Linked DNA regions of Homo sapiens: region 2 is linked to region 1. The links are contacts of gene promoters, found by promoter capture Hi-C in blood cells and fetal thymus (Javierre and others, 2016). All regions are on one chromosome and are shown on one strand. The core of a region is centred on a gene start or on the middle of the fragment in contact, and the rest is flanking DNA. Distances in the headings are between cores, read along the strand shown. Region 1 holds the start of DAPK1 (death associated protein kinase 1). Region 2 has its middle 74 kb from the start of CTSL.

Region 1 (5,646 bases), core at 1,847-4,346:
TATTTATTAAATAAAAACCCCGCTAATTTATTTAAAGATTAATTGAGAGAATTATTTCATCTGTCTGGAACCTGGTATGTGTTAAGAGAAAAGTTTTCTTAATTTTTCTTTTTAAGAAGATAATCTATTGCTACATAACAAACCACTCTGAAATAATGACTTAAAACATTAAAAGTCATTGATTTTGCTCACAGAACTTGAACTGGAAGATATAAACAACTGGGAGTGAGGGTGGGGCTGGACAGCTGGCTTCTCTGGGCATCTCTCGTTCTTTCTGTGGTTTTGTCACATGTCTCTACATGGCAGCCCTAGGGTAATCATGACAGCTGAAGGCTTTAGAGTGGGTGGAGGGGGAGAGGGAGGGAGGGAAAGAGAGAGAGAGAGAGAGAGAGAGAAAGAGAAGCAAGCAGGCAGAAGCTCTAATGCCTTATGACCTAACCTTGGAAATAAATTACACTGTGCCACTGCCACTACCTTTTCTTAGAAGCAAGCAGATAGGGTTGGTGAATATTTATTGAGAGGGGAATTAGACTCCACCTCTTGATTGGGGGAGTGTCAAAGAATTTGTGAATATGTTTTTAAATGACCACATTTCCCCTTTCTAAAATGCTTGTCTAAATTGGTGTACACAAAAAGCTCGGGGGTTAGTGACTCATCCAAGGTTATTAAGCTGTTAAATGGTTCCACCAATACTAGATCTAATTTTGTGACTCCAAATTTCATGCTCTTTTTCACTACTCCAGATAATCTCCGGTGAACATCATTGTCCATTAGGGTAGTTAAGACATTCTAGCTGCCAAATAGATTCAGTCCTTTTAATTGCCTCGGACAATATATTTTTTATTTTGCAGAAAATAAATATTACCCATATGGCAGTCATCCATAAACACCTTCCAAGTTTATCCCAAACATCTGTGTTTTAAATTTTTTCTCCCAACAGATGTATTCATTTGCATTTTCCCAGATGAATCACTCTTTTTTTGTTGTTGTTGTTATTTTTGACTGTATTTCTCACCTCTCAAGACCCTTTTGTATTATCAAGCCCACTGCTTAAGCTAATACCATCTCCCAATTTGGGGACTTCCCCTTGATTCCTGTGTGCCCTTCCTGTGGGTCATTAATGCAATGTTATTTAAGACTAGGATTTGGCTGGGCGCAGTGGCTCACGCCTGTAATCCCAGCACTGTGGGAGGCCGAGCCGGGAGGATCACCTGAGGTCAGGAGTTCAAGACCAGCCTGACCAACATGGTGAAACCACGTCTCTACTAAAAATACAAAATTAGCCGGGCATAGTCACATGCCTGTAATCCCAGCTACTGGGTAGCCTGAGGCAGGAGAATCGCTTGAACCCGGGAGGCGGAGGCGGAGTTTGCAGTGAGCCAAGATTTCACAACTGCACTCCAGTCTGGGCCACAAGAGCGAAAACCCGTCTCAAAAAAAAAAAAAAGACTAGGATTTGACATAAGGCCTGAGGGGTATTCTTTTGTTTTGTTTTGCCTTGTTTTCAAGAGGCCAAAATCTTCACAGTTGAAAATTTCTGTTGAACCACAGAGATTTGAACCAACTCAGTTTAGAAAGCCTGGGGATTTGAACAACGGTATGGATCGGAAATCTCTTCATCTGTCAGTTTTCATCATTCTAGGCAGTAAAATAGATTTCCCTTTAGGAGCTTTTCACCGTTTGGGGTTCTCCAGCAGTGGGATGTGGGGAATCAACCCTTCTTCGTCTCCACCCAAACATTAGGTGGGAGCAAGGGGTGGGAAGTAGAGAAAGTGGATAGAGGTCTCCAGTGGATATGGGATCTTTGTGTAGACCAGCACAGTCCTCAGAAATCTCATGCAAGCAACATAGGTACTGTTATATTTTCTAGTGGCCACCTTTTAAAAAGTAAACAGGTGAGGCCGGGCGCGGTGGCTCACGCCTGTAATCCCAGCACTTTGGGAGGCCCAGGCGGGCGGATCACGAGGTCAAGAGATGGAGACCATCCTGGTCGACACGGTGAAACCCCGTCTCTACTAAAAATACAAAAATTAGCTGGGCATGGTGACGCGCGACTGTAGTCCTAGCTACTGGGGAGGCCGAGGCAGGAGAATCACTTGAACCCTGGAGGTGGAGGTTGCCACGCTCCACTACACTCCAGCCTGGCGACAGAGTGAGACTCCGTCTCAAAAAAAAGAAAGTAAACAGGTGAAATTAATTTTAATAATATATTTTGTTTAACCCAACGTATCCAAAATACTATCATTTGAAAGTGTAATGAATATAAAAATATTCATGAGATATTTTTCATTCTCATATCCATACTGTCTTGGACTCTAATGTGTATTTTACACTTACAGCACAATTAATTTGGGACTAGCTACATTTCAGCTCAACAATAGCCAATAGCATATGGGATAGCGCAAATAAACTCTGCGTCTCTGTTGCTTCTTTGGGTCTCGGAGACCTCAACCCTTTCTTCAGATTGCAAACCTTCTTGCCTTCAAGCCTCGGCTCCAACACCAGTCCGGCAGAGGAACCCAGTCTAATGAGGTACGCTCCCTTCCTGCCATTCTCTATTCCATTAACCTGTTTCGTGGTAAACGTAGGACTGATCCTCCAAAATTACCTTATTAATTAGCTTACATATTTATTATCTATCTGTCCCACCAGAATGCAGGTTTCCGGAAGGCAGGGATTTAAAAAAATCTGTTTTGTTCTATGTGATTTTCCCATACCAAGCACCGTGCCCGGCACAAGCTGGGATCCCAGTACACATCTCGGGACGGAAGAACCGTGTTTCCCTAGAACCCAGTCAGAGGGCAGCTTAGCAATGTGTCACAGGTGGGGCGCCCGCGTTCCGGGCGGACGCACTGGCTCCCCGGCCGGCGTGGGTGTGGGGCGAGTGGGTGTGTGCGGGGTGTGCGCGGTAGAGCGCGCCAGCGAGCCCGGAGCGCGGAGCTGGGAGGAGCAGCGAGCGCCGCGCAGAACCCGCAGCGCCGGCCTGGCAGGGCAGCTCGGAGGTGGGTGGGCCGCGCCGCCAGCCCGCTTGCAGGGTCCCCATTGGCCGCCTGCCGGCCGCCCTCCGCCCAAAAGGCGGCAAGGAGCCGAGAGGCTGCTTCGGAGTGTGAGGAGGACAGCCGGACCGAGCCAACGCCGGGGACTTTGTTCCCTCCGCGGAGGGGACTCGGCAACTCGCAGCGGCAGGGTCTGGGGCCGGCGCCTGGGAGGGATCTGCGCCCCCCACTCACTCCCTAGCTGTGTTCCCGCCGCCGCCCCGGCTAGTCTCCGGCGCTGGCGCCTATGGTCGGCCTCCGACAGCGCTCCGGAGGGACCGGGGGAGCTCCCAGGCGCCCGGGTGAGTAGCCAGGCGCGGCTCCCCGGTCCCCCCGACCCCCGGCGCCAGCTTTTGCTTTCCCAGCCAGGGCGCGGTGGGGTTTGTCCGGGCAGTGCCTCGAGCAACTGGGAAGGCCAAGGCGGAGGGAAACTTGGCTTCGGGGAGAAGTGCGATCGCAGCCGGGAGGCTTCCCCAGCCCCGCGGGCCGGGTGAGAACAGGTGGCGCCGGCCCGACCAGGCGCTTTGTGTCGGGGCGCGAGGATCTGGAGCGAACTGCTGCGCCTCGGTGGGCCGCTCCCTTCCCTCCCTTGCTCCCCCGGGCGGCCGCACGCCGGGTCGGCCGGGTAACGGAGAGGGAGTCGCCAGGAATGTGGCTCTGGGGACTGCCTCGCTCGGGGAAGGGGAGAGGGTGGCCACGGTGTTAGGAGAGGCGCGGGAGCCGAGAGGTGGCGCGGGGGTGCCACCGTTGCCGCAGGCTGGAGAGAGATTGCTCCCAGTGAGGCGCGTACCGTCTGGGCGAGGGCTTCATTCTTCCGCGGCGTCCCTGGAGGTGGGAAAGCTGGGTGGGCATGTGTGCAGAGAAAGGGGAGGCGGGGAGGCCAGTCACTTCCGGAGCCGGTTCTGATCCCAACAGACCGCCCAGCGTTTGGGGACGCCGACCTCGGGGTGCCGTGGTGCCCGGCCCCACGCGCGCGCGGGGCTGAGGGGTCGGGGGCGTCCCTGGCCGCCCAGCTTTAACAAAGGGTGCTCCTCTCCACCCCGCGAGGAGGGGCAGCTCCGGAGACCCGGTCTTCAGCGAGCGGGGTCTTAGCGCCGGGGAGGTCTACTTCCTTTTGGGGTTGCCATTTTACTATTATTATTGCCTTTTTTTTTTCTTCAAAAGGACTGGAGACTGATGCATGAGGGGGCTACGGAGGCGCAGGAGCGGTGGTGATGGTCTGGGAAGCGGAGCTGAAGTGCCCTGGGCTTTGGTGAGGCGTGACAGTTTATCATGACCGTGTTCAGGCAGGAAAACGTGGATGATTACTACGACACCGGCGAGGAACTTGGCAGGTAAAGGGGGTACCAGAAGCGTACCCTCCTGGATTGTGGAAATGCATAACGATGGGGCCATTGGGTGGTAAACAAATGCAGTTTGAATCAGGCGTCTCCCTCGCCCTTTCTGGAGATGCGCAAATCATAGAGAAAAGAGTTACTAACCCAGCGGTAAACCGCCTGATCCAAGGGCCTGGGGGTGGAGGAGAGGCAGCAGTTCAGGGCTAGATTATGATGCACAGTATATTGATCCAGTCCCCTGGACAAAATCAGATTTAATTGTCCGTGCTAACTCTTGTCAGCCCTTGCCCTTCTGTGACAACAGGACAAACACTAAGATTATAATTGCAATTGGAGTTAGCTTTTATGTGTGATTTAAACGGAGGGTACAAACTAATTAATAGGTTTTAAAAATCTTAGTACTTTACCCTCTATCTAAATTTTCAGTGTAATTTGAGCAAGTATTGGTAGGTGGTAAATGGAGACTTGCCAGATGTTGACATTGGGCTTGGATTTTGAAACTTCTTCCAACCAGGAATTTAATTACCTGGTTGGTGTTGGTGGTTGCTTTGGTTTCATTTACAATGTTAAATTTTTAACAAATCAATGAGAGTCTAATATGGCTATCTGGATTCAGAGCATACCTCCATTGCTGTAGCAGCTGTGATTCTCAGTGTAAAATCTTTCAGTTTCTAGGTAAACAAAGAATAGTTTCTTTCGGGGCATCTAAGGGCTGATTGCTGTTTCCTTTGACTGTGTATTAGACAGAGTGTTTTGGGCTCTGGTCAACTTTAGTAGAAAACCTAGTTTTCATACATACATTTAAAACTGAATTTATGGAATTTGACTGTGGTGTATTTACATTGTGAGTGGAGTAGGCAAAAGGATCTTTAAACAAACAAAATATGTATTTACTTATATGTGCATTGAAATATGTATTTTCCCATATACATCTGATGTCCTGATACAAAGCTTCCTTTTTCTCCATGAAAAGGAAATTAAAAAACACCCACATCCTGGATTGCCTAATGAGAATTATGGAAACTAAGCTTAACTAAATTTTTTTAAAAATTCAAATGATAGTGTAGAATTTTTTTAAAAGTTACTGTAACAGAGTATTTCTCTAAATATTTAGTATCGACTGAAAACATAGATGGGGGCCTGTGCTTAGGAAGAGCTCTCTGTATATTGATGATCTGGTGAGTAAATAAGGAAAGCTCTTCAAACATCACATTTCATGGATATGTTTAAGATTAAAGTTTAAGAGTGTGTGGGTGAAATATTTGGTTTAACTG
Region 2 (5,664 bases), core at 2,949-5,448, 300 kb after region 1:
GTGCCACCATCACCACCTTCCATCTCCAGAACTTTCTCTTCAACCAAAACTGAAACTCTTAACCCATTCAGCACTAACTCCCCACTCTCCTCTCCCTAGCCCCTTAATTGTAACAGGAATGAAGATAATAATAATGTTCATTTCTTGTTGACTTTCTTATTGGTAACCTGTCCTTGATTCAGCCAGAAGTAGCCTTCATCTTGGGAACTGTTAGGATTATTAAAGGATAAATGGAAAGTAAAAGAGTCAAACGTTCAGAGTTTAAATTCCAAAACACAAGTTTTGAGCCCCTGGCTTTCAACAAAAAACAAGGCTCTATACAGACAGGTGAAATGTCCTTCCAAATTCCAACAGGCTCCTGGGAAGCTGGGTGGACACTCAGGATGGCCTGGCTCCAGGTCACCTTGCCTTGCGCCACTGTCTTTAGGAGTGAAAACAATCTGTGAGCAGCATCATAGCTGGGCTAACAAATAGTGGAGCGAGTATCGTGGAGGAGGATTCAAGGCTTCTTTATAACCTGGAAGACAGAACAAGGGACGAGAAATACAGGTAGCAAGTGTCAGCTCACGTAGGAATTAAAATCTGCTTTTCCAATTCTCCATCCCTGGGACTGTTTGAGCAGACTGCCTGGCCCCTGTGTTTCATGGTGGGTGATGCTCTGGATGAACTGAGAAACCTCCCATTTCCTCTTGACTCTTAGATCCTGTGCCCTTATTTTAAGAGCAACCAGAATGACTGTGTTTCCTAAAGTGTGGCCCTCCCGCAGGGGCCTTGGGTAAGTTTCAGTGTTCAAGGGATGGAATAAACATGGTCATGAAATATGTCATGAGATGGGGCCTGAGGGCTTTCCCTGCACTTCTATGCATAGCAAAGAGCAAAGGCTCTTGAGCAAACAAAACACAGCAATAAACCTTTAGAGTCATGTGGCCCATGGTGAACTTATCACTAGTCCAGGGAAATGGAGGAAACAGAGGAACACTGGGTGGTTATTTTTCCTAACATTAAATTATTCCATTGAAGGAAATTACCACTGTTCTACCACTATAACTTTCCTAGTTTTGTTAGTTCCCTTCCCCTCCCCTCCCCTCCCCTCCCCTCCCCTCCTTTCCCCTTCCCTTCCCTCTTTCTCTCCTTTCAGGGTACTATAATTGGTGACAGCATTGGATAGTTGTTGCTTTCAACTGTTCTGTTAGTTTTATGGAAGGGTAACTTAAAATGTCACTGGGAAAAGACAGATAAATCCACAAGTAGGAACATTCTACAAGATAACTGGTTTTGCATTTTTGCTCTATGGCTGGGTTTTTAAACCGCACCCCAGTGTTGAATGTCACACAACTGGAGCAAAGCCTCCTATTTTGGGTCATTTCTTCCAGGAATCACTTGCTGGGGGGTTGAATGTGTTCCTTGAATTATGATTACCCTCTGTGTCTGCGCACACATTCTCTGCCTTAGGTCCCCCAAACATTGTCTCCATGAGAACACCTTACTGCCTTTTCTCAATGGTTTTTGCACCCAGGAGGCCTGTTTGGAGCTGGTAACTCCACACCGCATGGAAAGCAGCCATCCTGAAGGCTGCCAGTAATAGCAGGTTAGTACCAGGTGCCCAGGGGGAGCGAAGAGGGACCCAGTCACCCAGGGCAGCGGGCACTGCACTCCAAAACTATCAGGCACTGGAAACAAAAGCAACACACAAGACAAAATGACAGCTTCTAAGGTGAGCCGAGAACTGCAGTTCAGAGCGTCACTTGAGGCTGTACGTGATTGTCACATGTCTGGAAATATTATCAGTAGTTGGCCCATTTCCACACTGCCTCCCAAGGCTCATACCACCTCCAAGAACTGGAATTTGGGACAGATGTGAGTTCCTGGTGCTCCTCACAGCCTCCTGCCTGGACTACTAGGGGCTCACCTCGCCTGCACTGTGGAGCTGCTGAGCAATGCACCTGGGGTACCCCTGGATGACCAGAGGGTTCAGCTGGTCCTGCACTTCGCACACAAACTGCTGCAGTGACATCAGCTGGTTGGGTCCATTGAGGTTCCACCAGGAAGGCAGCATGGAGATGATTTTCTCACACAGGTGAGTCATGGGAGGGCAGACCTAGAAGAAGCAGGGCAGGACAGGTTAACTCACCTGCAGCTGTGGGTGCCCTGAGCGGAGCTGCGGTGGAGAGGACATCTTTCATTCAGGTGCCTTGCAGGTGATTTGGTGAACAAATAAGCACGTTTATGCTTGAGTACTGGGACAGTTATTATTTTAGTTACCATCAAGTGGAATCAATTTATCAAATATAAGGTTTTATAGAGGCTCTTCAGTTCTACTGGAAATCTATTAAACAGATTTTGAGTCTTCCAAGAATGTTTTTGGAATTGTGGACTCAGTCACTCAATCAACTAATGTTCACCAACTCCTAATGTTTCACTCCCTCACTTCTTCCTCCCTCCCTCCTTTCTTCCCTCGCTGTCTCTCCCTCCTGTGACTGTTTCACTCATGTAATGACCACTTTATGAACAAAAAGAGGAAAAGAGCATGAGTATCATCATCAATGTCAGAGTGGGTTTTGACCAGTAAATTAGCATTCATGGGGACTGTTGTTGAAATATTGTTTCAAATTAGACCAATTCTTGGTAATTAGCTTGAAATGATTTTCTAACCTTTTAAGTTGGTTAAATAAATCAGCCTATGTTACAGATTCATATAATTGACGCACCTCCTGATTAGAAACCACACATGCCATGCCCTGCACTGCGCCGTTAATTCCACACTCCCCTCTCAAATCCTTTTATATCAACTAAATTCCACTCCCTATTCCCAAAACAGGATTCTCAGGGGTGAGTGCAGTTGACGTGGTGGGCTCCACCTGCCTGAGCTCAGGAGTTTAGGGGTTGGGTGGGGGGTATCTGAGAAGCAGCAGATCATGCCACAGCCCAGCTCAAAAATCTCCAGGGACACTCCCTCCTGCCTCAGGAATGCAGCCCCAATCCAGACCTGGTGGGGAAGTGCAGGGGCCCTCACAGACAGACCACTGTTAGTTCCTAGATCACCGCCCCTGGTTTCTGTGACAGATTCCTCCCAGGCCTCGCCGGACTACTCCCTTTGTGTTTCCCGAGAATTCCAAAAGCATGTCTGGATCCAGCGCCTGCTGTCGGGAGTGCAGGGTTTTGGAAGGGGGGCCCATAACAGGAGGTGGCCCCTGCTGGACAGCAGAGGGGCCCAGAGCTGACACTCAGGCTTGGGCAGTAGGAACCTTCTGAGAACGCGTTACCACTTTCCACTGGGATGTCTGCCCTTTTCTTACTAATTTTGGAGAGCTTTTTGAATATTATGGGTAGTAGTAACCCTCTAGCTGTGAAATGCATTGAGAATATTTTTTTCCAGGTCTATTTCACTTTGTAACTTTGTGGAATATATTTGCCAGAAAGTCTTTTTTTAAAAGTGTGTCAAATATGTACATTTTCTTTAAACATATCTAGGGTTTTAAAAGGTTTCTAAACTTCCAAGTCATTTTAAAAACAAGTTTTCCCAAATTTCCATTCAAGAGATTGTTGTATCATTTCACGGTGAAAAGCTCTAATCCATTTATCTTTATGCTCTGTAGTGAGCGGGAGTTCAACGTTGTTTACCTTTAGGCAAATAGCCAGCTGTGTCAAGATCGCTTATCAAACAAACATTTTCCCCATTAAATTGAAATAACATATTTTGCTTTCTATAACATTTCTGTAGATATTATGATTGACTTCTATACTCTCTAGGCTGTTCCTATAACTTATTTAATCATATTGATTATAGAGCCTTTATAATGTTTTATTTATTCTTCTATTAAAGTTATAAGATAGGAAACTCAATCTCCTTAGTCCCATTCAGATGCTAACTGGAACTCTATTAAATTTATATAACTCAGAGAAATTGAAACATCCAGTCCTATCTTGCTATCAGGGATAGCAATCTCCTTCCATTTTTTTCATCTACTATTTTATGTCCTTCAATAATTTTGTTAGTGACGGTTTTTCTACTTCTCTGAATTTTCTAAATATTCCACAATGTCACTTTGGAATTACTTTTGTAATTCGAGGGCAGGATCTGGGGGCCCAGGACAAGCTTCTCCTCTCTCTGCTGCCACAGCCAGTTCTGCTCCGGGGAGCTCAGGGGACACCAACTTTCCAGAGAACAAAATGCACATGGACTCTGATTCTGTCTATTCATTAGAGACAGAAAGTCATAGTTGATGCTGAGATACAGATGTAGGGAATGTTTTCTTTCAATGTTTCAGTATGTTCCTTGCTCTCAAATATTTCTGAAGGGTGAAGCTTTACATCTTCCCAGGACTACTTCATCCAGCAACCATGGCGTGCTCTGTGCAGCACCCCAGCTGGTCTCATGCCACTTGAACAGGAGTCCCCTGCCTGTGGGGTGTGGTCTGGTGCTGATGCACAGGCTCTAAGAGCATCAAGTGACTGTTGACTTGCCTGGCCCAGGGCTAGTGGCATCTTCTCTGGTGGCATCTTCCCATCCACCTCTGGGTCCAGCTGCTGAGCTGTGCCTTCTATCCAGGGCTCCCTCAGACTCAAGGCTGCAGGTGCACACCCCAGGTCAAGTTTTCCCCACACCGGGCAGGAGGAAAAGGTGCTATGGGGCCTGTGTGCACGGCCTCCTGCCTCTTTACAGCCTCAGGCAGATGCTGGTTTAACTGTAGGTGAAGCTCCTTATTTCCAGGTACTGGATAACACTCTGCCTACCCCTCTGGAGCCAATGGACCACCTGGGCATTAAGCAATGGGGGCCTCCATGGGGTTGCACACATCTCTTGTTCTTGCCAGGTCCTCCCAGAGGCTGCATGGCTTTGCTAGAGAGCTCTGAGACTGAATGTTGCCTCTGACATTGACTAGGCATGACCTTACCAGGGCCCACACACTCCAATGCATTTCTGCGCAGGGTACTGTCCTTCTCCCCTGGTTGGGAATGTCATCACAGAGCAGAATTTCACACCAGGGGCAGGACCTGCTTCTGAGGTCTCTCTCCTGTTCCAAGGGACTCTTGACTCTTGGAGTTGGAGTGCAGGTGGAGAACATCATGAAATCAGAGCCTGTGTCCCTCTAAGTGGAGCAGCTGCCGCCTCCCCGCTACCCAGCACCACGGAGGAAGGTGCATCCAGTGTGGAACAGGCTTCCCACAAGAAGCCAAATATCCACATTTTTAGGTGTGATCTCCTGATTTTTAAATGACAGTCAATGTCCCCCCTCCCCTCCTCATACTCAACAGAGCACTGCAGCTTGTAGGGGAGGCCCCCATCTGCTGTGTTCCTCTCGCCTGGGAAGACCCACCTCGAACTTCTGAGCCTTGGGTTACTTTCCTCTGAAATGGGCTCATGAGAGGACCGCACAGATCCTGGCAGTCAAATGACAGGCTCTGTGGACAGCGTCTGGAACCCGGGTGAGCACCAGCTACAGGACTCCCTAGGTCCTTCCCACTGGGCCTGGCTCCTATGGAGGGTCCCACATGTATTCTTGCCCAAGGCTCACTAAGTAATAGAGCCTGGACAGCCCCAGTCCAAGCACCGTCACATCTCCCCTGGTTGCCAAGATCATCTCCTATCAGGTCCCTCTGCTCCACCTCCTGACCCCGAGGCTCCAGTCTGAGCAGCTGGGGGAATTCCTAAACCTAAGGCAG

What was found. Contacts are between HindIII fragments. The CHiCAGO score rates a contact against its expected background, and 5 or more counts as called.
Region 2: a contact is called between a fragment that was not itself captured here and the fragment with the promoter of DAPK1 in region 1, in 2 of 17 cell types (erythroblasts and monocytes). The highest score is 5.9, in erythroblasts.

What each region holds. Positions count from the first base shown.
Region 1 is chr9:87,494,771-87,500,416 of GRCh38, forward strand. DAPK1 (death associated protein kinase 1) reads left to right here and starts at 3,097. Exons shown (of 26, transcript NM_004938.4): 1 at 3,097-3,337; 2 at 4,200-4,369. The coding sequence starts at 4,308. RefSeq lists silencers at 2,746-2,805, 2,826-3,175, 3,546-3,735, 3,946-4,055 and an enhancer at 3,446-4,203. The HindIII fragment of the contact is 10,886 bases long and covers 1-5,321 here.
Region 2 is chr9:87,797,598-87,803,261 of GRCh38, forward strand. It overlaps the pseudogene LOC100420576. Among named protein-coding and RNA genes, the nearest start is that of CTSL, 74 kb to the left of the region's middle. RefSeq lists an enhancer at 2,634-3,134. The HindIII fragment of the contact is 209 bases long and covers 4,095-4,303 here.